7 separate regions of the Homo sapiens genome follow, and regions 2, 3, 4, 5, 6 and 7 are each linked to region 1. The links are contacts of gene promoters, found by promoter capture Hi-C in blood cells and fetal thymus (Javierre and others, 2016). All regions are on one chromosome and are shown on one strand. The core of a region is centred on a gene start or on the middle of the fragment in contact, and the rest is flanking DNA. Distances in the headings are between cores, read along the strand shown. Region 1 holds the start of CCNQ (cyclin Q). Region 2 holds the start of G6PD (glucose-6-phosphate dehydrogenase). Region 3 holds the start of LAGE3 (L antigen family member 3). Region 4 holds the start of RPL10 (ribosomal protein L10). Region 5 overlaps CETN2 (centrin 2). Region 6 holds the start of LOC124905237 (a long non-coding RNA gene). Region 7 overlaps ZNF185 (zinc finger protein 185 with LIM domain).

Region 1 (3,705 bases), core at 809-3,308:
CCTAAGAAAATCACTGCCCTGGTGCACAGAACCAAAACAAATTCACAACCACCAGGGTTCACAAGACAAGGTTAAATGACATCCACTAGGCCAAAACAGAAAGGCGAAGAACAACCGACAATCAACCATGAAATGACAGTCAGCATCCTCTGCCTAAGAAGGTAGATCAGTTCCCTAGGGCTACTGCAACAAATCACCACAAATTCAGCCACTTAAACAACACACATTTATACTCCTCCGATCCTGGAAGTCAGAAGTCCAAAACTAGCCTAGAAAGCTAAGATCAACGTCTAAGCAGGGCTGGCTCCTTCTGGAGGCTCCATGGGAGAATGTTTCCTTGCCTTTTCCAGCTTCTAGAGGAGGGCTGCATTCCTTGGTTGCTGGCCCCTTCCTCCATCTTCAAAGCTTCTAACTCTGCTTCTGTCCTCACGTGGCCTTCTCTGACGGTGACTCCTCCTGCCTTTGCCTTATAAGGATGGGTGTGGTTACACCCAGATAATCTAGGATGATCTCCCATCTTAAGGTCTCTAATCACATCTTCAAAATCTCTTTTGCTATATAAGATGACATTCACAGGTTCCAGGGATTAGGATAGGGACATCTTTGGGAAATCAATATTTAGCCTCCTACAAAGGACAAAGGATTGTGTAATACATTTTATAAAGAAGTCCCTCAGAAGGTCTAAACTTGTTATATAAAGACAATTCCTACCTGGGACCCCTCATTCCAGGAGATGCCAGATAAGGTGCTGTTACTGACATGACCTTCCAAGCTTTGTTTTACAGAGCAAACCCCAATTTACACGGACCCTCCGAGCAGACGGTAGCAGATGAGGTGTCACTGCCATCCTTCCCTAATAATAACTTTGCAACTCTTCTTGCAAATTACAGTAAATTTACATATCACTGGGATGAACAGTCCTGCAGCAGTCCTCAGACTCTCCGCCCACCTTGGGTAGAAAGCACATCTGCCCAACCCTTCTCCCCCAAGCAGTAAAGGTAGGAAATAACTACCCGCCAACTAACAGTATCTCCTATCAAGATACTGTTGATGGGCCGGACGAGGTAGCTCACGCCTGTAATCCCAGCACTTTGGGAGGGCGAGGCAACTGGATCACCTGAGGCCAGGAGTTCAAGACCAGCCTGGCCAACATGGTGAAACCCCGTCTCTACTAAAAATACAAACATTAGCCGGGTACGGTGGCACACACCTGTAATTCCAGCTACTCGGAAGCGTGAGGAAGGATAATTGCTTTAGTCCGGGAGACGGAGGTTGCAGTGAGCCGAGATCACGCCACTGCACTCCAGCCTGGCCAACAGAGCGAGACTCCGTCTCGAAAAAAAAAAAAATACTGTTGATGGCTGGATGGAAACGATGTTTCTACAGAGATCTTAGCTTAATCACCTCGCCTGGGAAGCGCGGAGCCCAACACTACTGTGGATGTCCTGGCAGGGTTCGGAACAGGAGCTGCAAGCAGCCTAGGTCCCCGGAGTGACAGGAACCCTCGGACAGCGTTCTCCAAAAGGCTCCGCGCGACTAAGCGCCATAAAGTCTACCGGAGTGCAGGGCCGCGGGTGCCGGCAGAAGGCGTGGCGCACTGCGCAGAGCTGCGGGCGCCCGGGCCGGTCTCCGCCTCGCTGGAGGCCCAACCCGGCCACGTCCTCTCCTAGGGCCTGCACACCGGTCCACGCCATGGGGATACCTCGCGGCTCACTGCTCAGCACACCGGGCGCGGCGCAAAGGCGGAGGTCCTCAGCCCCGAGCAGGGCTTCCCGGCCTCTGCTACGGTGAGCACTCCAGAAGGCCGGCCTGGCCAGCCGGGCCCGCTCCGCGAAGCGGGCCGCGGCGCCGCCTGTCCTGGCCTCCCCCGGCCGCGGTTACCTGCCTCCATGATGAACCTCGCCACTCGGAAGTGCACCCTGGCTTCGGGCGCCGGCTGCCCCTCCGGGCCCCGCGCTGCAGGCCCCCCTCCGCCGCCCTCCGGGGCTTCCATGAGGCGCCGCGGCACCGGCGGAAGGAGAGGCGGCCCCGGCGCGCAGAAGCCGGCAGAACTGGAGGTGCTCGCGGCGGGCGCTGCCGCCCCACCCGGCCGCGTCCGGCCCCGCCCCGCCCCGCCCCTCGCCGCCCCGCCCCGCCCCTCGCCGCCCCGCCCCGCCCCTCGCCGCCCCGCCGCTCCTCCGCCCCGCCCCGCCCCTCAGGGCCCTCGCCCAAGGGTGAGCGCGCGCTTGCGCCACAGACGCTGCCTGGCCGCGCGCGCAGGCGCAGGCGCAGGCGCAGAGGCCGACACCACGGGGCGGCTGGTATGTGTCCACCGGCCCCTAGGCGCCTCGAGCCCCGCCCCTGGGAGACGCAGGCTCCTCCCCGCGGAGCGAGAGCCCGCGGAGCTGCTCCGAGACCCGCGGGAGGGCACCTCCGGTCACCCGAGCCGCAAATCCCCGCCGTCCGAAGGGGGTGTCGCCCCGGGCTGTCGGCCCAGCGTGGCTTAGGCCAGGTACAACCGGCAGCGCCCGCCAAGCCCTGGGCTAGGGACGCCTGCGGGAGTTCACGGGGAGGCGCCGGTGTCTGAGGTCTGAGAAGACAGCGGCCACCGGAAAAGGTGCTAATGTTTGCAGACCCCGATCCATCGACACCCCAAGGAAATGCTGTGCACAAAATTCCAAGAGGGCCTTTTCGAATAGACGCATGAACGGTGTTTGTGTCTGGATCGTCCAGCCTCCCGGGATCGATTGGGAATCTAGCTTCTGCTTGCCTTTCCAGCGCGACGCACAGTAGGAGCCTAATAAATGTTTGCTGAATGAATGCTGAATATCGAACTCAGGTATTTACCATCTCATTTTTCATTCGCGTCTTCCACAAGCAGGAAATGGTGCATCAGGCTTTAGGGACATAGAACCCCAAAGGTACTCACTCCCAAGTTAGTGACAGTCACTGGAGTCATTCTGATACATTCAGATCATTGCTACAATTTCAGACAGCTGGCAATATGGAGAGGAAAAAGCTACTGCTCCCTAAACCCTTCTGCCCAGGCGCCTTGATCTCCTGATGGTGTGGAAGTCTCCACCTCTTACCCCCACCCCACACACCCAGTCCGGCCTCATTCTCCTTCCTCAGCACTTCCTGCCTCCACCAGCCTCCCCAAGTCCTCTCTCCATCCCAGCTGGGTTAGTTTCCTGGGGCTGCTGTAACAAATGACCACAAATTGGGTTGCTAAAAACAGCAGAAGTATATCCTCTCTCAATTCTGGAGGCCAGACACCTGAAATGGAGGTGACACTAGGGCTTTGCTCCCTCAAAGGCTCTGGCAGAGGATCAGTTCTTCCTTGCTCTTCCAGCTTCTGCAGCCTGAGTTCTTCCTGGGCTTGTGGCCCCATCACTCCAATCTGTGCCTCCGTCTCTACATGGCCTTCTCCCTGTCTTCTCGTCTGTCTCTTATAAGCACACCTGTCACTGGATTAGGGCCTACCTAGATAATCCAGGAGGAGCTCATCTTGACATCCTTATTTTCATTACATCTTGCAAAGGCCCTTCTGCTAAATAAGGTCACAGTAACAGGGATTAGGACACGGACACACCTTTTGGGGGCTGGCATTCACCCCACAATACCAGCCGCCAGAGCGAGCTTTCTAAAAGGCGAGGCTGAACAGGTCCTGCCCTGCCTAACACCCTCCGGAGTCCCTTCACCTTCAGGAGAAAATGTGAGGCCTTG
Region 2 (3,705 bases), core at 1,206-3,705, 950 kb after region 1:
ACCTTGTGATCTGCCCACCTTGGCCCCCCAAAGTGCTGGGATTACAGATGTGAGCCACTGCGCCCAGCCAATTTTTGTATTTTAAGTAGAGACTGGGTTTCGCCATGTTGGCCAGGCTGGTGTCAAACTCCTGACCTCAGGCGATCCACCTGCCTCGGCCTCCCAAAGTGCTGGGAATACAGGCGTGAGCCACCGTGCCCGGCCAGGTATGGCTCTTCTGAGGGGACCAGGCTGGGGCTGGGGCTGAGGCCAAGCCCAATCTACTGTGGGCTCCACCTGGTACCTCTCCTGGGTCTCAGGCTTATGGGGAGTCAGAGGACAATGGCCCCTCCTTACTCTGCCACTGGCAGAGCCCTTCTCCCTCGGCTGCCTCCTCATTCCCTTTTGGCTCTCCTTTTCTAAGTTCTGATCAGAAGTACAAAGGTGTCAAGGAGTAGGTTTGACAAAGTGTGACAGCGCGTTGTTCTATGTGAACAAAGAACCACTGAGCTCAGCCAGCACTGAGGGGCGCACGATGTGGAAGAACTAACTAGTTTTGATAGAGCTCCTGCTCAAGGTTACAAGGTAAGTTAATGGCAAAGATGGTCATACAGTAATGAGCAGAGAGATTCTTGAGTGCATCCAGGGTTAAAAGTGAAAACTGAGACCACGTGTAATTTGAGATGAAGCCCTTGTTCCACCAGCCCCTGCACAGTCTCACTGCCCCATGGGACACAGGGGAGGGTGCTCTAGTCTCGGGCGATGGCTGTCCTAGGACCACCCCTCCCTCCCCTCCCATGGAAATCCTCATGCTATACTATTCTTTTGTCTTTCCTATGAGTGCAGAATGGCGGTTCTACAAGCTGGACAATTGGGGCCAGGTGGGGTGAGGCAGAGCTCCTTGGTAGGCTTTCGAAATTGAGGCAAAGAGACAGTGTTCAAAGAAAAGCTAAGTGTTTGTATCGACGGAACTTGAAGTGTTAGTGAAGAGGCAGAGATCAGGCCTCAGATCCTGCCTTTGGAACTCATTTGTTAAGGCATGAACAGGTCTGAAAAAACTACAGAATGAATAGCATTCCCTGTTTTCCCCAAGAAGTCCATCTAGACAGTCCCTAAAGAGCCTGCAACTCCAGGATTAAGGGCTACATTCAGCGGCTAGGCACAGGGTTCAGAAACGTCCTGCAGCCGGGCGTGGTGGCTCATGCCTGTCATCCCAGCACTTTGGGAGGCCGAGGCGGGCGGATCACTTGAGGTCAGGAGTTTGAGACCAGCCTGGTCAACATGGTGAAACTCCGTCTCTACTAACAATACAAAAATTAGCCGGGTGTGGTGGTGCATGCCTGTAATCTCAGCTACTTGGGGGGCTGAGGCAGGAGAATCGCTTGAACCCAGGAGGCCGAGGTTGCAGTGAGCCAAGATGGCGCCACTGCACCCCATCCTGGGCGACCAGAGCAAAACTCCGTCTCCAAAAAAAAAAAAAAAAAAAAGTCTTGCAAGTGCATATGCACACCAGGTAGAGCCGGGATGATCCTGGCGCACTAGCAGGAGCGGGAGGAGGAGCTCAACTTAGCAGAGCCTGTGGGGCCCTGCAACAATTAGTTGGAAAAGCTGAGGCATGGAGCAGGCACTTCCTGGCTTTTAAGATTGGGGCCTGGGAGATACTCACCGATGCACCCATGATGATGAATATGTGTGTATCCGACTGATGGAAGGCATCGCCCTGGAAAAGCTCTTCCCGCAGGATCCCGCACACCTGGGTCCGGCTCAGGGCCACCTGCTCTGCCATGACGCTGTCTGGTGGAAGAAAGGCTCGTTAACAAGGCAGAAGAACAGGAGAGCATTGAGAAGTTAGCCCCTTTCTTGAGAGTTCCTCTGGGGTCTCACACCAGGGTGACACCTGATTGCCCAAATCACTCCTTGTGAACGGCTGGGCATTGGGGAGTGGTTGATGGGTTAGAAACTGCTGGCTCTGGGCTCCAGCCACTCTCTCCTAGGCAGCCTTCATTCAGGGTGTACATTACAAAATTACTCAAAGCATTGGTGTATTCCGACTACAGCATCAATTCTGGACAACCGAGTAAAATCCTTGTGGGGCATGGAACTGCGTGCCCAGGACCATCTCATTCCCGACTGTAGCGGGAACTCCACAATGACCTGGAGCATGGGAGATGGTGCAGATGCTGGAGTTCAGCTCCAGCCCTCCCCTTGCCAAGCTGGGTGACCCCGGTCGGCAAGTCCCCTTCGCTCTCGGGGTCTCAGGGGCTCAAGAGAGGAGGTGCGGGGTATAAAGGGATTGGTTAAGACCCTCTCGATTCTGCTCGGTTCTCAAGCACAACAAACAGCGTGTATTTTACCGCCGCGCGGCGCAGCGCGGGACAGTACGCTCCTCCGCCTGCGCGGCGCCCGCCCGGCCGGTTACCTGCGCTTCGTCGTCGTCGCCCTCCGCGCTCGCAGCCCCGAAGTGTACGACCGTTTCCGGGGGCTGAGCCCCGCCGGCCCATTTAATCGGCGGGGGCGGGGGCGGGCGCCTGGGCTGAGCGGACCCGCCTCAGGCGAGGCGTGCGGGGCGGGGCCTCGGCCACCACCCCTCGTGCGGGCGGGGCGGGGCGAGGGCAGGTGCGCGCGCATCCCAGGCCAGCCCCTGCCTCTCGGGCACCTGCGCTGGAGGCCGGCCCGCCGGCTGCCTGCCATACCCGCTGCCGCTGCTCTGCATCCCCAATTCCGGCGGGCACGGGTGCAGCTCCGCGTAGTGCTCCCGCATCCCCATCGCCGGCCCGGCCCCGCCCCTACTGTCCGGTTTCCCCGCCTGCCCCGGCGGCCTCGCGCGCTCGCGGAGGGCTCCACTTCCGCCGGCAGCGTGGCCACGCCTCCTCTGGGCTGTCCCTCGGCTCCTGGGCGGGGCCTTCTGCCGCGCCACTCCCCCGGGAACCCTCGCCTGTTCGCGGGTCAAGCCGGCCCTATTGGGCAGTCTCTTCTTGATTCCTCCCCCGGAGAGGGCGGGGCGGCCGAGCGCCCCGAGGCTAGACGCCGCCGTCCGAGAGACGAGGGGGCGTGTAGGCGGTGACGCCCTGCAAAGTGGCCGGCGTGCTTATCATTACCGAGCTTCCGCGGGCCTGCAGAGCCTGGCGGACTCAGACTTCTCTCCGGAGCGGGATGCGGCCCTACCGCGGCCTCACACTTCTCGCCGGCTTCCCGAGTTCTCGGGGGCGGGGCTTGTGTTTTTACTTCCGGATCCCACAGCTATGACACCGGAAGCCGGAAGCGTGGTAGGGAAGGGCGACCGCGAAACTGGGACTTTCTCGGAGCGCCGGGGCCCTACCAGCGTTCACAGTCCGCCGCTCCCACCCTTCTCACGTCTGACGGACTCTGCTGACAGGTGTGGTCCTTTTCCCCAAAGACAGGGTTCCATCCGTGGGCGTTCCGCCGCCTCCGAAACTTCCCCCGGACGTTCAGGCTCCCCCCTCTTTTTTGGGCCCCAGCCCGTTCCTGCTCCGCGCTTCTGGAGCACTGGCCAAGGCGGGCCGATTCAGGACCCAGGTTACTTGGGCGGCGAGCTGGACTGTTTCTACTCCTCCCTCCTCCTCCACTGCGGGGTCTGACCCTACTCCTTGTGTGAGGACTCCTCTAGTTCAGAGACATATTCTGTTCACCAAACTTGACTGCGCTCTATCGAGGTCGTTAAATTCTTCGGAAATGCCTCACATATAGTTTGGCAGCTAGGTATCT
Region 3 (3,705 bases), core at 342-2,841, 880 kb after region 1:
GAATTCTAGAACCCCCCCCCCAGCAACCCAAGCACAACAAGAATATTGGGAGGTGCCCCAGCTGCAAATAAACTCAGACTTGGAATAGTAGCGCAGTTTTATTTTCTGTAGTAACAAACATTTAAGAACCAGATAAAACATGAGGCCCTCCCAGGAAAGTAGCAACTGTGGGAATTCCTGCCCTAGGGAAGGATGGACGCACTGCCTACAAGGAGACGCAAAGTGGGACCTCGCTCCATTTGCCCAGGCCAGGCTTAGCGGGAAACGGGGGGCCCAAAGCGCTGCATGGTCCGCACCACCAGGGAAAGCTGGTCAAGAAAGTTGATGACGGAAATTCGGAGCAGGCGACAGTCTTCAGCTTTCCAGCGGCTAAAAGTGAGGGGAAAAGAAAATCAAATTGGAGGTGGCAACTCCTGGTCCCTCGCTCTGCCCCTCAGGCACCCAATATAGCAAACCCTTGGGAGCCCTGCCATTACACAGCCCCTCAGGCAGAGACCGGCCCAGCGCACCTGGCGCTCCTTAGGGCTCATCCTTGGATGTCCCCCATGTCTCCATGGGCCGCCTCCCCCAACCCCGTCCCTTTCAGAACTTACACGACCAGGATCCTGCCACTCACTGTGAGATCCTTCCCAACCACCCTTTGGTGGGGCTCGGCATCTGGTGCCAGGGACCCATGGGCGATTTCCGCCTCCAAGGGGGTCGGGAAAGGCACGCTGAGGGTGCTGGGGGTCATTCGGTTAAGGTGCCATCTGATACGATCTTGCCTATGTCTCAGGCCTTCTTGCTCCTCTGAAGCCCCCTCTCAGGTCACCCTGCCTAGTGTCACCCCCTTCACTCCTTACCTCGCCCAGGCCACCGTTAGCAGAGCTTCTCCCTCCATTTCAATGTCTTCCCCTCCTCCGACCACCTCTGACCGTATACGCCAGCCCCGGTCCCCCCCTGCTACCCTTTCCGTCGGCCCCCCGCCCGCCCTCCTTTCCTTCTCCCCGAGTCCAGCCCTCGCTCCGCCGCAAGCAGCCCCCAGCTCGGAAAGGATACAATATGTGCGGCCGCATTCGTGACCCCCTGGCCGCAGACGCGGCGTCTCTGCCCGGACCTGGCGCGTGCGCTGGGGGAGCTCCACCGGCCGGAGCTGCGGCTGTGTCCACGCCCCCGCGGCAGCTGTGGCCACCCCGGCCATCCCCGCCGTCAGCGCCTCCGCCTGCGTCTGCATCCGCGTCCCGCATGACCGCCGCCGCGCCGCTCCGACTCCACCCCCGAAGCGCAGGTCCTACGCCCCGCCCTCTCTGTGGCTCCTTCCCGAAGCCCCGCCCCCTGCGCACGACTCCGCCCACACGCGCCTGCGCAGGTCCCTGGAGAGCCTGACTGGCGCGTGGTCAGTTCCCGCCAAGCGGCCCTGCCGGGGGCCTTCTGAGACCCGGTCAGCGGTTGAGAGGCTGCGGTTTCCTCCAGAAACTCTGCCCTTTCGCGCGTAACTCGATTCCAGAGCGCTGGTGCAAACTGACCCACAGTCGGTCCGGCCCCAGGAAGCCAACCCTGACGGGGCTTTTGAAGACACCGTGGTCGCCTATCCCAGAGGCGCACCCCGCGAGGCTCCGCCCCTAAGCGCGCCTTGTGACCTTAGCGCGCCTGCGCTGGCGGGGCCTTCCCCCTTGTCCCTGGAGGCCCCAGTGAGGCCCTGCGGTGCCTGGACGGCTTCCCGCCCCGTTTCTTACCTGGACCCAAGAGCCCCAGGAGATGTGGCACAACGTCCATGTTGCGATTCGCAGAGGGAGGGTGGCCGGGTCGGGTAACCCCCAAGGATACTGCTCTTGCCCTCAACCCCAGTGCCCAACCAACGGGGCTTCACCATGGACTGTGAAGCATCGGATGTGCATTTTAGAGGAAGCATTTTAGAGCGGGTGGGCTGTGCAGAGCGGGGGAGCCTGTCAGCAGGAGGCCTGCACGGAGGCGAAAAATGACAGGGCCTTGAATGAAAGTACTGGCGGTGGGTCTAGGTCTAATATAACGTGAAAAATCAGACTGCACAACTATGAGTATGAAAATGCCAGTTTAGGCCAGGCAAAGTGGCCCCCGCTTGGAATCCCAGCACTTTGGAAGGCCAAGGGAGGAGGATCACTTGAGCCCAGGAGTTCAAGACAAACACAGGCAACATAGTGAGACCCCGTCTCTACAAAAAATACAAAAATAAATTTTAAAAGTTAGCTGGGAGTGGTGGAGCGTGCCTGTAGTCATAGCTTCTTGGAGGCTGAGGAGGGTTGATTGCTTGAGCCCGGGAGTTCGACACCAGCCTGGGCAACATAGTGAAACCCTGCCTCTACAAAAAATACAAAAATTAGCTGGGTGTGATGGTGCACACCTGTGGTCCCAGCTACTAGGGAGGCTGAGATGGGAGGACAGCCTGAGCCCGGGAGGCAGAGGCTGCAGTTAGCCGTGATCGCCCCACCGCACTCCAGCCTGGTTGATAGAGCCAGACCCCGCCTCAAAAAATAAAAGAAAATGCCAACTTAGTCTCTTACTGTACATATGTAGAGAAATCCTAGAACAATACAGCGTCAGGTAAATCCTCATGATCTCTGCTAATAGTATGGTGGGTGACTTTAATTTCCTTTTTGTGTTTTCCCTCCAATTTTTCCGAAGTGGTCTTTTATGACATTTACAATAAAAAAAAAAGTATTTAAAGTGACATCAGTCCGGGCACGGTGGCTCACGCCTATAATCCCAGTACTTTGGGAGGCCGAGGCGGGTGGATCACTTGAAGTCAGGAGTTCAACACCATCCTGGCCAACATGGTGAAACCCCCGGCCCTACTAAAAATAACAAAAATTAGCTGCGTGTCGTGGTGTGCGCCTGTAGTCCCAGCTATTCGGGAGGCTGGGACAGAAGAATCACTTGAACCCGGGAGGTGGAGGTTGTGGTGAGCCGACATCACGCCACTGCACTCCAGCCTGGGCGACAGAGGGAGACTGTCTCAAAAAGAAAAATAATAAAAATAAAAAATGAATAAATAAAGTGACATAAAATTTCCAACAGTGTTTGTCATGTTTGGACAACCTATTTTCCTCCTTTGCAGTCATAAGGAAGGATTAAACACTGAACTATATCAGCAAATCCTGTTGGGTTTCCCTCTGAAATAGGTTCCACATCAGCCCACTTCTCGCTCTCCACTGCTAGTCTGCTGTGGAAGCCAGCATCTTTCCTTGACCTCCCTCAACAGCTTCCTGGCTGATTCTCTTTTACACTTTCCCCTCTACAACCTATTCACCACACCGCAGAATGACTTTTTAATTTCTAATTTAAATTGCATGGGGCTGGGCGCAGTGGCTCATGCCTGTAATCCCAGCACTTTGGGAGGCCAAGGCAGGCAGATCACTTGAGGTCAGGAGTTCCAGACCAGCCTGACCAACATGGTGAAACCCCATCTCTACTAAAAATACAAAAATTAGCCAGTTGTGGTGGCAGGAGCTTGTTATCCCAGCTATTTGGGAGGCTGAGACAGGAGAATGGCTTGAACCCGGGAGGTGGAGGTTGTGGTGAGCCCAGATCGCACCATTGCACTCCAGCCTGGGCAACAAGAGCAAAACTCTGTCTCAAAAAAAAAAAAAAAAAAATTAGCCGGCTGTGACAGTGTGTGCCTGCGGTCCCAGCTACCAGAGAGGCTGACGCAGGAGGATTGCTTGAGCCCAGGAAGTCAAGGCTACAGTG
Region 4 (3,705 bases), core at 463-2,962, 800 kb after region 1:
GTGTGCCGCCACGCCTGGCTAATTTTTAAATATATATATATATATATATTTTTTTTTTTTTTTTTTTTTTTCTGAGACGGAGTCTCGCTCTGTCACCCAGGCTGGAGTGCAATGGCGTGGTCTCGGCTCACTGCAACCTCCGCCTCCCGGGTTCAAGCGATTCTCCTGCCTCAGCCTCCGAAGCAGCTGGGATTACAGGCACCAGCCAGCATGCCCAGCTAATTTTTGTATTTTTAGTAGAGACGGGGTTTCACCATGTTGGCCAGGCTGGTCTCGATCTGCTGACCTCATGATCCGCCCGCCTCGGCCTCCCAAAGTGCTGGAATTACAGGCGTGAGCCACTGCGCCCAGCCAATTTTTAGTTTTTAATTTTTGTAGAGGCGGTTTTTCGCCATGTTGTCCAGGTCTCAAATTCCTGGGCTCAAGTGATCCGCCCACCTCCGCCCCTCAAAGTGCTGAGATCACAGGCGTGAGCCACGGCACTCCGCCGCAATTCCTGACTTGTACTGCCCCAGTGGTGTTACAGCCTCGAACCCAGTTTCCAGACCTAAGTCACCGCCGGCATCCAGAGTCCCATGATGGAAAGGGAGGCTAGGTTCCCCTGGGAAGGACCTTGCACCACTGCTGCAAGTGCACCCCAGAAATCGTCCCAAGCTTTTCTCAAAGGGACCTGCAGCCATTTATAAAAGCGACATATCATCCTGGAAAACAGGTGCGCTCGAGCAGGATTTCCTCCCGTCCTTCCTGTCAAAGGACGGGAAGACTTTGTTACCCCACCGCGCCCCACCTGCAGAATGGTGGACAGATACCTCCAGATGCCACTTCCCCCAGGACGCCCGCCTGCTCTGCGCACCTCTCCCCGGATGCTGCCCCGTGGGCGGGTGGGGGCGGCCCTGCTTCCCCACGACCCCCAGACGCACCCGGAGGGACTCTTGAGCACAGTGGAGTGGGAAGGGCGAGGTGGGGCGGTGCCCAGGCGAGAGCGGCTCATGGGAGGCGGCGCCCGAGACGCAGCTGGTCGGGACGGTGCGGGTCAGGGTGGGCGGAGCGGGGCTAGAGATGCCCCGGGGTTTCCCAGGCCATGAGTCTCCGTGGAGATTTCTCCTCGACCTCTTCCCCGCGGCAATGTGCGAACCCTGGGTCTCCAGGAAACGGGGATACGGGGCATGGCTCCCAGCAAGGCCTGGTCCAGCCTCTCCGGTAGGGGAATGGGTCTCCCCCTCCGGCCTCCCGGGTTGACAAAGGAACGCGGGCCCAGATCCCCGTATGGCGCTTCACCGCCGGGGCCTCTAGCCTAGAAGGAGGCACGGAGCGCGTGTCCGAGACCCGTGCAAGCTCAGGGACACTCTCGCGGTCGCCGGGAGGCCCACCTAGGGTACTTTCCTTTTTTCCACTCTCAGAAATATACGTCTGTCACAGTTAACGGCAAAGCCTAGGGCAAGAGTTCTACGCCCAAGATGGCCAGCCGGAAGCGGGCTTCTCGCGACCATGTGGCGAAGCCCCATTCGTCAGCTGGCCGCCCGCGGCCCTGGTACCCGGTCACCTCTCTGATCTGCGCATGTGCTGGGCTACGCCCGGGCGCAAGCGCCAAGAGCGGCTGCGTCTATGGTCATGACGTCTGACAGAGCGTCCACCCGTCTTCGACAGGACTCTATGGTTCTTACGCGCGCAGACAGACCGCCTATATAAGCCATGCGCAGGCGGAGGAGCGCCTCTTTCCCTTCGGTGTGGTGAGTAAGCGCAGTTGTCGTCTCTTGCGGTGCCGTTGCTGGTTCTCACACCTTTTAGGTCTGTTCTCGTCTTCCGTTCCGACTCTCTCTTTTTCGTTGCAGCCACTGAAGATCCTGGTGTCGCCATGGGCCGCCGCCCCGCCCGTTGGTGAGTCTTGAATCCGTGTACTTTCACTGCTGGGAAACGGGCGGGGAAAGAAGTGCCTATGGCCGCTGAAAACAATTGTGGGGTGGAGCCTCCCCCGTGCGGCGGCCCTGTCTTGGGAACTGACCCTATGTTTTACACCTCCCGGCTATTTTTTAGTCTGCAATATTACTGTCTGTTCCTTCGTTCCCGTGTCGGTGTGGAAGCGACGGTTCCCTCGTATCTCTGCCTGTGTCCTGCAAGCTCACCGCATTTTCGGGCGCTAGATACGCTCTTGGGGCCTTTGTGTGCGTTCTCTGTCTTATTTCCGGGCGACGTGCCGCGTGCGTTGTCGGACGTGAAGGGCAGTCCGGGAAAAACGGGTGCGGCCGCCTCCTGTGTCCTACAGGGGGCGCCAGACGCATTTCCACTCGGCTTGGAGGTGGATTTAGTGCCACGTGCCCGAAAGTCTTAAATTGGGTGACCTGAGCTGTGCAATGATAATGCGGCGATTTTGTAGTACGCAGTGTCTTGAAGAGAGAATTTTTAACTAGGAAAGTTTGTTGCAAAGTGTTTATAGGAAGCGTAAGACAAAGTAACGGAAGATGGTGTCTGTTGTTTCTAGTCTTGGGTGTTGTCTGTGTTGCAGCAGCCAACTGTTGCTTTGTAGTTTATTTCCCCGAATGGAAACGGTTTAGAAGTGGACGTGCATTCCCCACCCTTTTCCCGTCCCTCGTTTGGGTTGTTCCTTGAGGGGCAAAGTGCCTGTTGGGCTTTCTGTGAACCTCACCTAACCTGTGTTTTTTCACTCCCCTGCAGTTACCGGTATTGTAAGAACAAGCCGTACCCAAAGTCTCGCTTCTGCCGAGGTGTCCCTGGTAAGTAGTGGAAGAGCCCCTGCACTGGTTGGCTCTGCGGACTCCGCGTCCGTCTGTGACACCCCCTGCACACTTACCCAATCCTTTTAGATGCCAAGATTCGCATTTTTGACCTGGGGCGGAAAAAGGCAAAAGTGGATGAGTTTCCGCTTTGTGGCCACATGGTGTCAGATGAATATGAGCAGCTGTCCTCTGAAGGTAAGGCAGGATTCTTTGTTCGTCACCCCCCAGTCCTTCCTCCGTGCTCCCTCAACCCCACCCACATACACTGCACTGGAATTGGGAGTTGATGAAACATGAGCCTTACAAAACTCAGCCAACACAGTTCCCCTGAGCTGGAGATAGTCGTGGTGAATGTTTCTCTATTATCTTCTCTCACTTTGCTGCTTTTCTTCTCCCTACCTAGCCCTGGAGGCTGCCCGAATTTGTGCCAATAAGTACATGGTAAAAAGTTGTGGCAAAGATGGCTTCCATATCCGGGTGCGGCTCCACCCCTTCCACGTCATCCGCATCAACAAGATGTTGTCCTGTGCTGGGGCTGACAGGTGAGCTTGGTCTGGGCCTTTTAAGGCAGTTGGAGTCTCTACATTATTAGGCTTGCATTATTTTATCAGAGCATAGAGGTGGCCCCAGTGACTCAGCCACTATGGCTACTAGAAAAGCCAGGCTGGCAAGTGACTTTCAGTGGTCACTCAGGACCCCTTCCTGCAGATACAAACAAAGCATGAGTAAGTCTTAGCAAGCTCTTCCCCACAGGTTAGGGGAAACACTGGTGATGGGAGTAGCTCTTCTTGCTTTTAGCTGAATGACAACCATCTTGCCAGCAGGTAGCTGAAGCTGGCAGAGGAGCCCAGTGGCGCCTTTTCAGTGGTTCTTGGGATGCTCCGCAGCCAATTAAGCCGACTGAGTTCCTTTCCTCATGGGGACCCAGTGTGCGATGGCTGCACACAGCAGCTTCCTTGGTAGTGTACGC
Region 5 (3,705 bases), core at 747-3,246, 770 kb before region 1:
CACATGAACTGATCCCTGCTCCCTCTCACTCCCTTCCCCCTACCCCTGCTCCCCTGCACCTCTCCGGGACACCCCATGCACGGATCTTTTCTACTTCTCTGTCCCTATCCTCTGCAATTTCCCTTCATCTCTTGGTCCAGCCCCACGTGAACTGACCTCAGTTACTTCTCCATCCACATCCTCCCCCGCCTTCAGGACTCTTTTCTGCCTCCACATGAACTGAGCCCAGCTCCCTCTCCTTCCCCATCTTCCTGATCCCTTTACAGCTCTCTGGTCCAGCCCCACTGACTCATGCTCCCTCTCCGTCCCCATCTTCCTGATCCCTTTACAGCTCTCCGGTCCAGCCCCACTGACTCATGCTCCCTCTCTGTCCCCATCCTTCCACTGAATAACTGCACACCTATGTTAGAATGGCTGCCAGGCAAAGACCTTATGTTTGCTTTTATCCTCAGGGATAACCTATTACTTGCCACTCTCCGTCCTGTCTCAAGAGATTCCTGAGAGATTTCATTTATGGGAATATTAAGCAGGAGGAGATAAGAATGTCTCCAGGATAGTCCATTAGCTTAATTTAGCCATTCAACAATGTATACATCTTTCAAAACATCATATTGTACACCATAAATATATACAATGTTGTCAATTTCAAAACTTCTTTTTAATTAACTTTTTTTTCCTTATCCCTGAAACTGTTTTTTTTTTTTTAAGTTAAGTTCCGGGATACATGTGCAGGACGTGCTGGTTGCATAGGTAAACGTGTGCCACGGTGGTTTGCTGCACCTATCAACCCATCACCTAGGTGTTAAGCCCCACATGCATTAGCTATTTATCCTGATGTTCTCCCTCCCCCCACACCCCCACCCCCACTGCCACCGACAGGCCCCTATGTATATTGTCCCCTTCCCTGTAACTACGTGTTCTCTCTGTTCAGCTCCCACTCACGAGTGAGAACAAGTGGTGTTTGGTTTCCTGTTCCTGGGTTAGTTTGCTGAGGATAATGGCTTCCAGCTCCATCCATGTCCCTGCAAAGGACATGATCTCGTTTAATTAACTTTTTTTCAAAAGAGTGTTTCCAGGGTTACAGTTAACAGTAAAATTGGAGGCAGGGCCCAGTCTTTTCACTCCTTTCCAATATTATGTCTTTTATCCAATCATATGCCTCTTATTAGAAAATCACAATACAACAAAGGTCAAATCCTCCTAGGAAATGCTATCAACACACTTTGGGGACAGTAATGATAAAAGCTTCATGGACCCACATTTAACAACAAAGCTTATGTGATAACTGTAGCAAAAGAATGGGAGTAAGACTGAACACTTCTGAATCCTCTTGTTCTTGAATACCTTCAAGCCAGGTCCTCTCTGTAAGTTTGTATTTCACCTCCAGTGATTCTGAGTAGGCACAACTCTTCTCCCCATCACACAGACATCAAACTCCAGGCACCTAGAGAAGTAGCTTGCCCCAAATTGCCCGATGAGGAAGTGGGTGTGTGTGAGAATCCAGGGTTTGGGCTAGTCTGGGCTCTTCCCCCAAGTTTTTCTTAAGGAGCAGTCCCTCGGCATGAGACTCATCTGGGGGATATGGTAAACTTCATATTCCTGGGCCCCCAAGTCCTACAGGATGTCAGGGTCCAGAGGCATGAGACCGAGGGCCAGGCTTCTGGCCTCTGTAACGTGCTCCCCGGGTAGGGTTACCAGTGGCAATACAGGATGCTTAGGTAAATTTGCATTTAAGATCAACAATGAATAAACAAAAAATACAAATGGGATATAGTCATACTAAAAAAAAGGCATCATTGATCTGAAATGCAAATTTACCTCAACTTTCTTTTTATTAGCTGAATCAGGCAACCCTATCCCCAGAGGACTAGCCTACCCCCAGAAGTTTGAAAATCTGTTTTCTCCCTCTCCATGTGAACAAACGAGCATTCCATCATTGTTCATTTTCTATTCTCCCTCACCCCTTCTGCCTCCCCACTCTCACCCTGGAGCAGAGACTTTAATGTCATCTACCAGGATTTCTCACACAGGGAATCCCGGGCAAGGCCAGGAAGATGGTTGGATGGGGTCACTCAGCCCAACCCACCTCCAAGAGTCGATGAGATACCATAAGCAAATAAATTCACGAGAGGTTGGCTGAATCCATCCTAGTGTTGCGTTAGCCTGGCTCTCCCCATTTTATTCAAGCACAAATTACTAACAAGACTCTTTTCCAGTCTTAGCTTTGCCAAAACTATTTTTAGAGCATCATTTAGGCTTAGGTGATATAAAAATTCTGCTAGTTTTACAAACCAGCAGCCTTCCAAGGCAAAAAGCAATTCATGCCAGGAAAGTAGCAAAGGATTATTCATTTTCTGTCCATAGGCTGGTAAGGAGTTTTGTATCTAATAGGCTGCCTTCAACACAATAATTGAGAAGAGGAACTCATAAGCAAAGCTAAAGAACTCATCCTTAGAGAATACAAGTTCAAACTGAGAAAGGTTTTACTTTTAAGACAAAACAAATAGCATTAACACACATCCAAATGCCAGTGCAGGAGTTCACTGGGTTTATAAAAGAGAAAACTAAACTCAAGTGTCAAATAAAAACTGGAGCCGTCAAGAATGACTGCTTGTGGCAACACAGGTGTAACATGTGCTTGTCTAAAGTCGTTCTGTGTTTGTGGATATGTGGAAATGCATGACGAGGGAAACGATGCAAGGCAAAATGGCAGGTGCTCAAAGCTTTAAGATCCTTTTCTTCACGCTTGTGTGCTCTTGTTTTGCTTTTGAGAATTAGGGTAATTCGCAGGTCATTTTACAAAGAACTGTAATATCAAAGAACACTTCCAAACGGCTAAAATAGGCTCAAGGTCACTATTAAAGTGATAAAGGGAGGTCCGTGGGGGAAAAGTTTGTGTTCTCAAAAGCCAGATTTCACACCATGGCAGGCACTAAATCTAGTTACATGTGCTTGCAGTAGAAAAAGAAGACACTGATCTTAATAGAGGCTGGTCTTTTTCATGATGCGCAGGAACTCTTGCTCACTGACCTCTCCATCTCCATCTCGATCAGCTTCATCAATCATTTCCTATATGACAGTAAAGATTCAGGTTAATTTATAAACTAATGCCAAAAGGTGACTAAGTAATAGACTTTTTTTTTTTTAGAGATGGGGTCTCTATGCTGCCCACACTGGTCTCAAATTCCTGGCCACAAGAGATCCTCCTGCCTCAGCCTCCCAAAGTACTGGGATTATATGCATGATCCACTGTGCCTGGCAAGCAATAGACTTTTAATCTATGTGAATAGATAATTTGTATCTATGTGAATAGATCATTGTAGTCCACCCAATGCCAGTATGCTACTCCTGATAATAGCTTGGTTTCTGAAAAGTTATTTGAAAACCAACTCATACTTTGTCAAACATATCACCTGGGAGGGACCTTGAAGATTGCCTTGACTAGAGGGATTCCTGGAACCTAAAATAGTAAGCAAAATTGTGCATATGTGCATTTTTCTGGAAGCAGGGTTCATAGGTTTGTCTGACTATTAAAGGAGAATTAAGTTGTCTGCAGAGGGACAAAGTACACTGGCTTTTCTTCAAAGAGGTGCTCACACTAGGGAAAATGTAATGGAAAAGTCACAGAGGGCTCAAAGGTGGGAATTTTAAGTTCCAGTGTGATGCATTACAAACCTGCAGCTCCTCATCAGTCAGGTTCTCACC
Region 6 (3,705 bases), core at 543-3,042, 670 kb before region 1:
AGGAGGATGGCTTGAAGCCAGGAGTTTGAGACCAACCTAGGTAACATAGCAAGACCCCATCTCTACAAAAAAATAAAAAATAAAAATTAAAAATTAGTTGGGAGCATTGATGTACACCTGTAGTCCCAGCTACTTGGGAGGCTGAGGTGGGAGGACTGCCTGAGCCCAGGAGTTTGAGGCTGCAATGAGCTGTGACCGCACCCTTACACTCTAGCCTGGGTGACAGAGCAAGACCCTGTCTCTAAAACAAGAAAAAAAAGAGAGAAAGAATGGAGGAGAATTAGATTGTGCTGTATTATAGATTTAAAAGGCACTTTGACATTTATTCCACAAAATTCCTTTCGATGTTTAATCCCCATCATATGGTTGTCATTGCAAGGTGGCTTTTTAAGTTTGCTCAGGTTGCCATAACAAATAAAGGCTAGAGATTCAGGGTCCGGGGCAAGCTCCCAACAGGAGGCTCAGCTTGATGCTTCTGATAGTTCTTTCCTCCAATTCTGGTCACTCAATATTTGGAGCTCACCCAGGCAGCTTCCAGGAAAGCTGCTGGCTGATCCTGACCCTGGAGGGCCGTCTTCTCTGACCCTACCACGTTAGGTGCTGCACTGGACCAAGCAGCCACCATCAGTACTCCCAGGCCCAGCTCCTATCTGCCTGGTGTCTGAGAAGCCCAGCCCGTGAGGAACAATGACTCAATCAAACTCAGGGTCCTGCAGCACTTCAGAAAAGGCTGGTTTGTGGCAGAGTGGAAGAGGAGAATGTCACAGCCTTGTCCCCAGGCACAGACCTATCGAGGCTACCCTCTCCCCACCCCCTGCCCTGCCCTGTTTCCCTTAGCTACAGTGCAAAGGTCAGCTCCTCATAACTCTTGCCCCCCTTGCAACCTGAACCCAGTTTAGGGACCCTCTCTTGGAGAAACTGGTTCTACACATGCACCCCTTCTCGGCCCCCAGGCCTGGCTGCTTTACCCGAAGCACTGGTCAAGCTTGCCTCACCTGACCAGGGCATGGCCTCCTGGGTCCCGGTCCTAGGCTCTGCCCAGCATGCTGCCTGGCAGAGCGTCTGGGGAGCAGGGAGTAGGAGCACAGCTTCTGGCACAGGACAAAACCCTGGCTTTGCATCAGACTGACTGTGTGACCTTGAGCAAGTCTCTTCATCTCTCCATGCATCAGTTTCCCCGTGGATAAAATAGGGAGAGCAGTAATAGCTACTTCCCAAGGCTGTCCCAAATGCTAAATGAGATCGTGCACCTGAAGTACTTACCACAGTGCCTGGGTGCTGGTATCCTCGGGGGCTCCCAGTCATAGGCGTGCTGAGCTGCAGGGCCCTTATTCAAATACAGGAAGAGATCAATATCTCCACCTGCTGGCATTTGAGGGAAATGTGGCCAAAGGCAGTGAAAAGGAGGTATCCCCTCGCCCCACATCCCCGCCTCCTCGCTCTTTGGCAGAATGAGTCACACACTGTTTGGCACAGGCCACAGTTGGTCGCATTCCCACAGGTGGCTGTGATCAGTTTTGGGCTTCAGGCTTCAGCAGATGCCTGCCTCTCTTCCTTGGGTGCCTTCCAAGGGTGTGCAGCCTTCCAGCGTGGTCCTGGACTTCAGCTTGGACTGGAGCTGTCTGTGGTTGAGAGTCTGGGGAGATGGTGGGGTAGCGGGTTGTGGGGGAGGAGAGACCCTTGTATTAGTTTACTGGAGCTGCTGTAACAAGGTACCAGAAACTGAGTGGCTTAAAACCACACGCATTTATCCTCTCACAATTCTGGAGGCTGGAAGTCTGAGATCAAGGTGTCGGAAGGGCCATGCTCCCTCCAAAGGCTCTGGGGGAAAATCTGTTCCATACCTTTCTCTTACCTTTTGTTGCCTGCAATCCTTGGTGTTTCCTGGCTTGCGCCCGCCTCACTCCCATCTCGGCCTCTGTCTTCGCGCAGCCGTCTTCCCTCTGTGTCTGCCCACATTGCCCTAGTCTGACATCAGTCACTGGAGCAGGCTGGGGTGACACTTTGTTCCCATTTCCTCTGTGACAGAGCCAGAAACGCCAGTGAGAAAATATGTTGTGCTTGCCTGTGACATCCCTGTTCCCTGGCACCACCTGATTTAAATGAGGCAGCCAGGGGTTTTATACTGTCATCATAAATGACATCATCCTCAACAACGATGTCATCGTCGTTATCACGAGAGGAGATGGGGAGAAGTCAGAGCTGTCTGTGTGTCTAGGGCCCCTCCTGGCTTTCATGATGGGAGAGGCCTTGTCCTTGGTAGCCCTTCCATTTCCCTCTGGTCACTTTGAGCACTCCAGGCCCTGGCCAGGGTGGAAGTGGAGGGACAGAGATGAGCAGCCCGCTGACCCAGCCCTCCATGGCTCATTCCTTGCTTTCACCTTGGCCACTCCATCCCCTACCCCTCCTGGGACCCCTGAGTGGCCTCTTTAAAGTGCCAGTCTGAACCTATAAACCCCCCACCTCCACTTCAAGCCCATCCTGCATCTTCCCTTTGCCATACCAGATCTAGTCTGTACATTCAGGACCCCTGCCAGCCTCTACCTCCTCCTCCTCCCCCGATCTCCCTTCAGCTGGCCTGGGTCGGGCTATGCCTCCATGAAGCTTGTCCACTGCTCCCATGGCTAAACCTGTTCTGGGCCCTGCAGCACAGCAAGGTCAGTTTCCATGCCTCTCTGCCCCTGCCTGACCCTGCTGGGCCCAGAGCTTCACCAGGGCAGGCCTGGGGCTCAGGCTTGTCTGCACTTCCAGGGCCCAGGGACAAAGGCAGGAGTGACTGCAATGTGGCTTGGAATTAGGCTTTGCTCCATGGACCTAAGGAGGTCTGGTTTGGGGTGAAGGGTCCACCCCCAGAAAGCCTGGGAGCTCTATATTCTCTCTGGCCCTGGCCACACCATGGCCAAGCCTGCTGGGCGTCATGCCTTGCAGTACGGCCAGAGAATGCATCAGACTTGGAGGGATGTGTGTCCGGGGTGGCCTGTGGTCATCTGGGGGAGGGCTCTGAGCGTGGCTGGCAAGAGGAAAGCTCAAAGGGGCCCTTTGTCCTCATCCCCGAGTCTGCGACATCCCCTCCCACTGGTTTTCATTCCATATTTGGTCTGTGGGTTTTCTCAGTCTCTCGTACCCCTCAGTCCCCACCAGTCCATGAATGCAGAACTACCCCTGGCCTCACAAATGGCCACTTTGGATACCCTGGTGGGGTCACAGGCTGCGGTTGCCCCTGCAAATGGTTGGTAGAAGCACGGGTTGGGAGGTTTCATTTCTACCCAGAAGGGCCCTTGCTGTGCCTGAGGGAGGGCTGGGCTCAGGTCAGGGGTGGGAGACCGGGGAAGGGGCCTACAGGTCAGTGGCCCGAGCTCAGCTGCAGCACCAACAAGGCTCAAGGCCAAGGAGGAGATGAGAGCACATCAAAAGGGGGCAGTGGGTCTGGGCGGCCCACCGCACTCACCAGCCCAAGAAGGGGGAGACTTTTCTCACCTGCAACCCACTGGGTCTCTCCTTTGGCCCGCAGCTCAAGAGGTGAGGAAATTGTCCGCCTGCAGATCCTGACACCCAGGGCAGGACTCCGCCTGGTGGCCCCAGACGTGGAAGGCATGAGGTATGGGGGTCCTGCTGCTGTCCTGGCTCCCTGGACACCATTCTAGAGATGGAAGCAGCAGCCTCAGGTGGCAAATGATGAGGCCTAGGGCCGGCTCTGCCACTGTA
Region 7 (3,705 bases), core at 847-3,346, 640 kb before region 1:
AAACAGTGTGGTCTCAGGAAGTGCTTCACAGCCATTGCAACATGGGCAGGGCCTAGAGGGCAGGAGAGAATGCCATGATTTGATGACATTTTACCCATTCCTGCCAGGTGAACTTCATCTCCCTCTCTGTGACAGAATTTTCTGGCTCTCACATCCAGCTTTGGTCACTGGGAACCCACCTATTGGCTCTTGCACTGGCAGGACATGTGGTAGAGGCTTCCAGTTCGAGGCAGGACTGGCTGCATTTTCAAGATGTCCTTATTTCTGGTATTTTGTGGCGATCGTCCTGTCCACTTAACTGATTTTGACCCATTGCCTTGCTGTGATCTCTGTGCTCTCTCTGTCTCCCAGTTCCAGGTCATTCCCTTGACCAGCTTCCAGTCTTTCCTCATCTTGTCCCTGCCAATGAAGTATTCTGGCTCTGCCTTCACTCTCCTGCCATGATCCATTGCTTTGATAGGGTGGCTTCAGGAACAGGGTGAGGAGAGGGCTGTGCTAGCTTTATCTTGCCAAGGAACTCAGCAAAGAAAATTTTTGCTGACCTCTTGCATTCCTCAGCCTGGCTCTGGTCTCTCAAACCTAACACATGGGATGCATGCCAGCAGCCAGCCTCAGTTTCCCTCTGGTCCTTTTCTGTGTGAGGCCAGAGGTCCTTGCTTTATCACTGCCTGGAGCTGCAGTTGATGATGGTGAAAGAAGGTGCACGTGTCTTTTGAGAGCTCCCTTTGTTCCCCAGAGATTTTTTTTTCCCAAAGTGGCCATGAGTTTGGGAATAACCAGGAGCCATGGGCCGCCGGCTAGAGATGCTGCATACTAAGAGCCTCCTGTGAGCAGCCATGTACACAGTGAACACGATGGCTAAGGCCCCATCCAGCCGCCCTCAAAGAGCACATAGTCCACTAAGGAATAAGCATGATCGTAATAACCATTAGCACCTGCTGTGTGCTGAGAATGTGCAGGCACTGTTCTGCATGCCTTATGTGGACTCACTCATTTAATTCTCACACCAACTCAAGGAGGTGCTTTTATTATGGAGAAACTGAGGCAGATGGAGGTTAAGTAATTTGCTGGCAGTTTTGCAGCCAGGAAGTGGCCTAACCGAGATTAGAATCCAGACAGAGATCAGAGCCTGTACTGTTCATCGCTGTGGCATCCATACTGCCCCTCCATTTGTGATAAGCCCAGGAAGGAAAGAAACCAGGTGCTCTGATGGAGAGGGGTTAGAGCAAGGATGGTTAGGGAAAGCTTTTCTATCGAGGAGGAGACAGTTCGGCTGAGACCTGAAACATCTGGAGGAGCCTGCCTTCCAAAGAACCTGGGGAGAGGCATTGTGGACAAAGAAGATAGGGAGGAGGGCCTGAACAATGAGCCCTGTGCTTGGAGGGTACGGGGTGAGGTGAGCAGGGGGCAGGAGCTGGGCCCTGTAGGGTCTTGTAGGTGAGGGAGAGGAGGCTATTGGGAGGGCTCCTATTGCTCACATTGCAGTCCTGGGGGGATGCCCAGGGCATTTTTTCTTTTTTTTAAGAGGCGGTGTTTCACTGTGTTACCCAGGTTGTTTTTGAATTCCTGGCCTCAAGTGATCTTCCTGCCTCAGCTTCCCAAGTAGCTCCAGGGAATTTCTGTTTTACCTTGCCTCTTCAGTTGCGCCGTCCCCTTCAGTATTCTGCTGACATGGATCACAGGATACCAGACACCTGGTAGTTGTTCAGTCAGTAGGAGGTCTTCCTTCCTTCCTCTTAGAATCAATCCTTTTCTCACTTGTTGGCTCTGCATTTTATCCCCCGTGTATCTTTTCAGATTTTTGTGGGGCCTCCTCTCCCATCCAGTCCACCTTCTCCAGTCTCTATGGTATATTTCTTTGTCATAGGGTGAAGCAGGAACAGGTACAGGATGATTGGGTACACTGAGGTGAGGTAGGAGGGCAGGCCCTCAGGAAGGGCTTCCCAGAGGAGGTGATATTGTCTGCAAAGGCATATGAGAGCCTGGAAGTCCAGGGGAACTGCAGGCTGGTCTGTACGGCTTGAGTGGCACGTGATACAGTTTGAGACTATGAGGCGAGAGAGCTAGGCAGATGCTAGACCATGATTGTTCTTCCCTTTCCCCACTCTTCAACTAGTTGTAATCTTAGGCATTGGATTCTCTGGCAAGGGGACAATACCCAGTAGCCTGGGCCAGATGGAGGCAGCCATATCTGGAGTATGATCTGAGCCACAGCATGTTGGAGAAAAGCCAGAATCAGCCCAGGGCAGTGTGCACCCATAGTGCTGGCCTCAGGCCTTTGGAGGGTGAGCAGACTTAAGTTGGAAGGTGCAAACAAGTGGTCAGTGGTGCTGCCCAACATCGTGCCCTGAACTGCAGTTGACAGCTACGGCAGCTTTGGTAATGAGGCTCATAGCCTGGGGGCAGGCAGAGTGAGAGCCGATATTGGCTTGGCCAGAGAAAAGCCCTTTTGGGCTGCCGAGGAGGTTGGATTCCAGGCCAAGGGCCATATCTGGCAGCTGAAGTGTGGAGGTTCAGAAAAACTTCGACACCGGTCAGTTTCCCGCCTCTGCTGGGAATGAGGTGCATCTGACTTTCCTCCTCAATGATGCCTAATTTCATTTGGTCCTCTGCCCCTTGGCCTTGTGTTCTCTAGAGAGTTCCCTGCAGGGTGGCAGAAGGAGCTGATCCTAGTAAGGGACCGTCCCATCCAGTGAGGAGGTGAGCTGGGCTGTGTCTTCCCCTTCTGCACCCTCCTGACTGTCACATCCCCGGGAGCCCCATGATTCCACTCTAACTGAGTGAATCACAGAGGCCAAGGCCCTTGGCTGCAGTCAGGAGTACTGAGTGGACACTGGAAGATTGGGGTCTTGCTACTGACTCACGATGTGACCTGGGACATGTCTCAACTCACCTAGCCTGGGTTTGCTTATCTGTAAAGTGAGAAGTTCCATTTGTTGGTCTTGGAGGAAGCTTCAAGAGCAGTGCTCAAGGGTTAGGCTCAGAAAAGCCTGTTTGACCCTGGAAGGTGTCAGCTCCCAGGTTGACGTGCCCACCCCTCCCTTTATTTCTTTCAGGGTGAGGAGCCCCTCGAGCTGCATGGTCACTGTTACTGTCACTGCCACATCTGAGCAGCCTCACATTTATATTCCAGCCCCCGCAAGTGAATTGGACTCCAGCTCTACCACGTAAGAAGGGCTATCTAGCAACCTGGGAGATGTTCCTCCGCCACTTCCTCCTTGGCGGTAAAGGACTTGGCTTTTGTTCCATGTTGCTTCCCATTTAGTGCCTTCCCCAGTTTCTAGCAGGCCATTAGCCAAGGGGCCACACAGGACAGTGTTAGTCCCCTAATATAAACTCCCATCTACCGGGCCTAGACATTCCCACACCTCCTTTTTCCTATCTCTGTAAGAGGCTGCAGTGGTACTTCCTAGTGCACTAGTGGATGTGGCTCTGCCATTCATGGGTCCATGCCTGGGAAGCCAGCTCCAGTCCGTGAAGGCCGGGCCTGTGAGGGCATTCCTGTGTTACTGTAAAGGAATACCTGAGGCTGGGACATTTATAAAGGAAAGAGGTTTAATTGGCTCACAGTTTGGCAGGCTGCACAAGCATGGCACCAGCAGCTGCTTGGCTTCTGGCAAAGGCCTCGGGAAGCTTATAATCATGGTGGAAGCCGAAGTGGGAGCAGGACCATCACATGGCACGAGCAGGAACAAGAGTGAGGAA

What was found. Contacts are between HindIII fragments. The CHiCAGO score rates a contact against its expected background, and 5 or more counts as called.
Region 2: a contact is called between the fragment with the promoter of G6PD here and the fragment with the promoter of CCNQ in region 1, in 1 of 17 cell types (non-activated CD4 T cells). The highest score is 6.5, in non-activated CD4 T cells.
Region 3: the fragment with the promoter of LAGE3 here is called in contact with the fragment with the promoter of CCNQ in region 1 in 4 of 17 cell types (total B cells, non-activated CD4 T cells, neutrophils and 1 more); the score reaches 9.6 in total B cells.
Region 4: a contact is called between the fragment with the promoter of RPL10 here and the fragment with the promoter of CCNQ in region 1, in 7 of 17 cell types (fetal thymus, non-activated CD4 T cells, naive B cells and 4 more). The highest score is 12.0, in fetal thymus.
Region 5: a fragment that was not itself captured here is called in contact with the fragment with the promoter of CCNQ in region 1 in 1 of 17 cell types (neutrophils); the score reaches 7.2 in neutrophils.
Region 6: a fragment that was not itself captured here is called in contact with the fragment with the promoter of CCNQ in region 1 in 5 of 17 cell types (neutrophils, activated CD4 T cells, erythroblasts and 2 more); the score reaches 10.5 in neutrophils.
Region 7: a contact is called between a fragment that was not itself captured here and the fragment with the promoter of CCNQ in region 1, in 16 of 17 cell types (activated CD4 T cells, total CD4 T cells, naive CD8 T cells and 13 more). The highest score is 19.4, in activated CD4 T cells.

Annotation. Positions count from the first base shown.
Region 1 is chrX:153,597,081-153,600,785 of GRCh38, forward strand. CCNQ (cyclin Q) reads right to left here and starts at 2,059. Exons shown (of 5, transcript NM_152274.5): 1 at 1,882-2,059. The coding sequence starts at 1,993. LOC105373383 (a long non-coding RNA gene) reads left to right here and starts at 2,260. Exons shown (of 1, transcript NR_131982.1): 1 at 2,260-2,813. RefSeq lists silencers at 1,770-2,129, 2,140-2,189, 2,290-2,429 and an enhancer at 3,570-3,705. The HindIII fragment of the contact is 8,000 bases long and covers 771-3,705 here.
Region 2 is chrX:154,544,391-154,548,095 of GRCh38, forward strand. It overlaps G6PD (glucose-6-phosphate dehydrogenase), which reads right to left and starts at 2,456. Exons shown (of 13, transcript NM_001360016.2): 1 at 2,399-2,456; 2 at 1,646-1,773. The coding sequence starts at 1,765. IKBKG (inhibitor of nuclear factor kappa B kinase regulatory subunit gamma) reads left to right here and starts at 3,230. Exons shown (of 10, transcript NM_001099857.5): 1 at 3,230-3,355. RefSeq lists enhancers at 1,492-2,035, 3,338-3,617 and a silencer at 2,338-2,897. The HindIII fragment of the contact is 7,888 bases long and covers 1-3,705 here.
Region 3 is chrX:154,477,690-154,481,394 of GRCh38, forward strand. It overlaps LAGE3 (L antigen family member 3), which reads right to left and starts at 1,592. Exons shown (of 3, transcript NM_006014.5): 1 at 1,039-1,592; 2 at 594-722; 3 at 86-369. The coding sequence starts at 1,226. The coding sequence ends at 255. PLXNA3 (plexin A3) reads left to right here. Exons shown (of 33, transcript NM_017514.5): 33 at 1-90. RefSeq lists a silencer at 986-1,205 and an enhancer at 1,467-1,966. The HindIII fragment of the contact is 14,076 bases long and covers 1-3,705 here.
Region 4 is chrX:154,396,665-154,400,369 of GRCh38, forward strand. It overlaps RPL10 (ribosomal protein L10), which reads left to right and starts at 1,713. Exons shown (of 7, transcript NM_006013.5): 1 at 1,713-1,730; 2 at 1,833-1,878; 3 at 2,674-2,732; 4 at 2,823-2,930; 5 at 3,139-3,277. The coding sequence starts at 1,856. It overlaps LOC124905228 (a long non-coding RNA gene), which reads right to left and starts at 2,178. Exons shown (of 2, transcript XR_007068356.1): 1 at 921-2,178. It overlaps SNORA70 (small nucleolar RNA, H/ACA box 70), which reads left to right and starts at 3,617; the gene lies at 3,617-3,705. RefSeq lists silencers at 756-935, 1,006-1,075 and enhancers at 1,078-1,623, 1,636-1,845, 2,168-2,713, 2,714-3,257, 3,258-3,705. The HindIII fragment of the contact is 9,726 bases long and covers 653-3,705 here.
Region 5 is chrX:152,824,862-152,828,566 of GRCh38, forward strand. CETN2 (centrin 2) reads right to left here. Exons shown (of 5, transcript NM_004344.3): 4 at 3,676-3,705; 5 at 2,133-3,069. The coding sequence ends at 2,980. Among named protein-coding and RNA genes, the nearest start is that of CETN2, 4.0 kb to the right of the region's middle. The HindIII fragment of the contact is 1,450 bases long and covers 1,272-2,721 here.
Region 6 is chrX:152,925,064-152,928,768 of GRCh38, forward strand. ZNF185 (zinc finger protein 185 with LIM domain) reads left to right here. Exons shown (of 25, transcript NM_001395254.1): 13 at 3,512-3,598. LOC124905237 (a long non-coding RNA gene) reads right to left here and starts at 2,095. Exons shown (of 2, transcript XR_007068368.1): 1 at 1,856-2,095; 2 at 286-1,636. The HindIII fragment of the contact is 1,619 bases long and covers 984-2,602 here.
Region 7 is chrX:152,960,783-152,964,487 of GRCh38, forward strand. ZNF185 (zinc finger protein 185 with LIM domain) reads left to right here. Exons shown (of 25, transcript NM_001395254.1): 20 at 3,057-3,167. Among named protein-coding and RNA genes, the nearest start is that of PNMA5, 31 kb to the right of the region's middle. The HindIII fragment of the contact is 1,707 bases long and covers 1,244-2,950 here.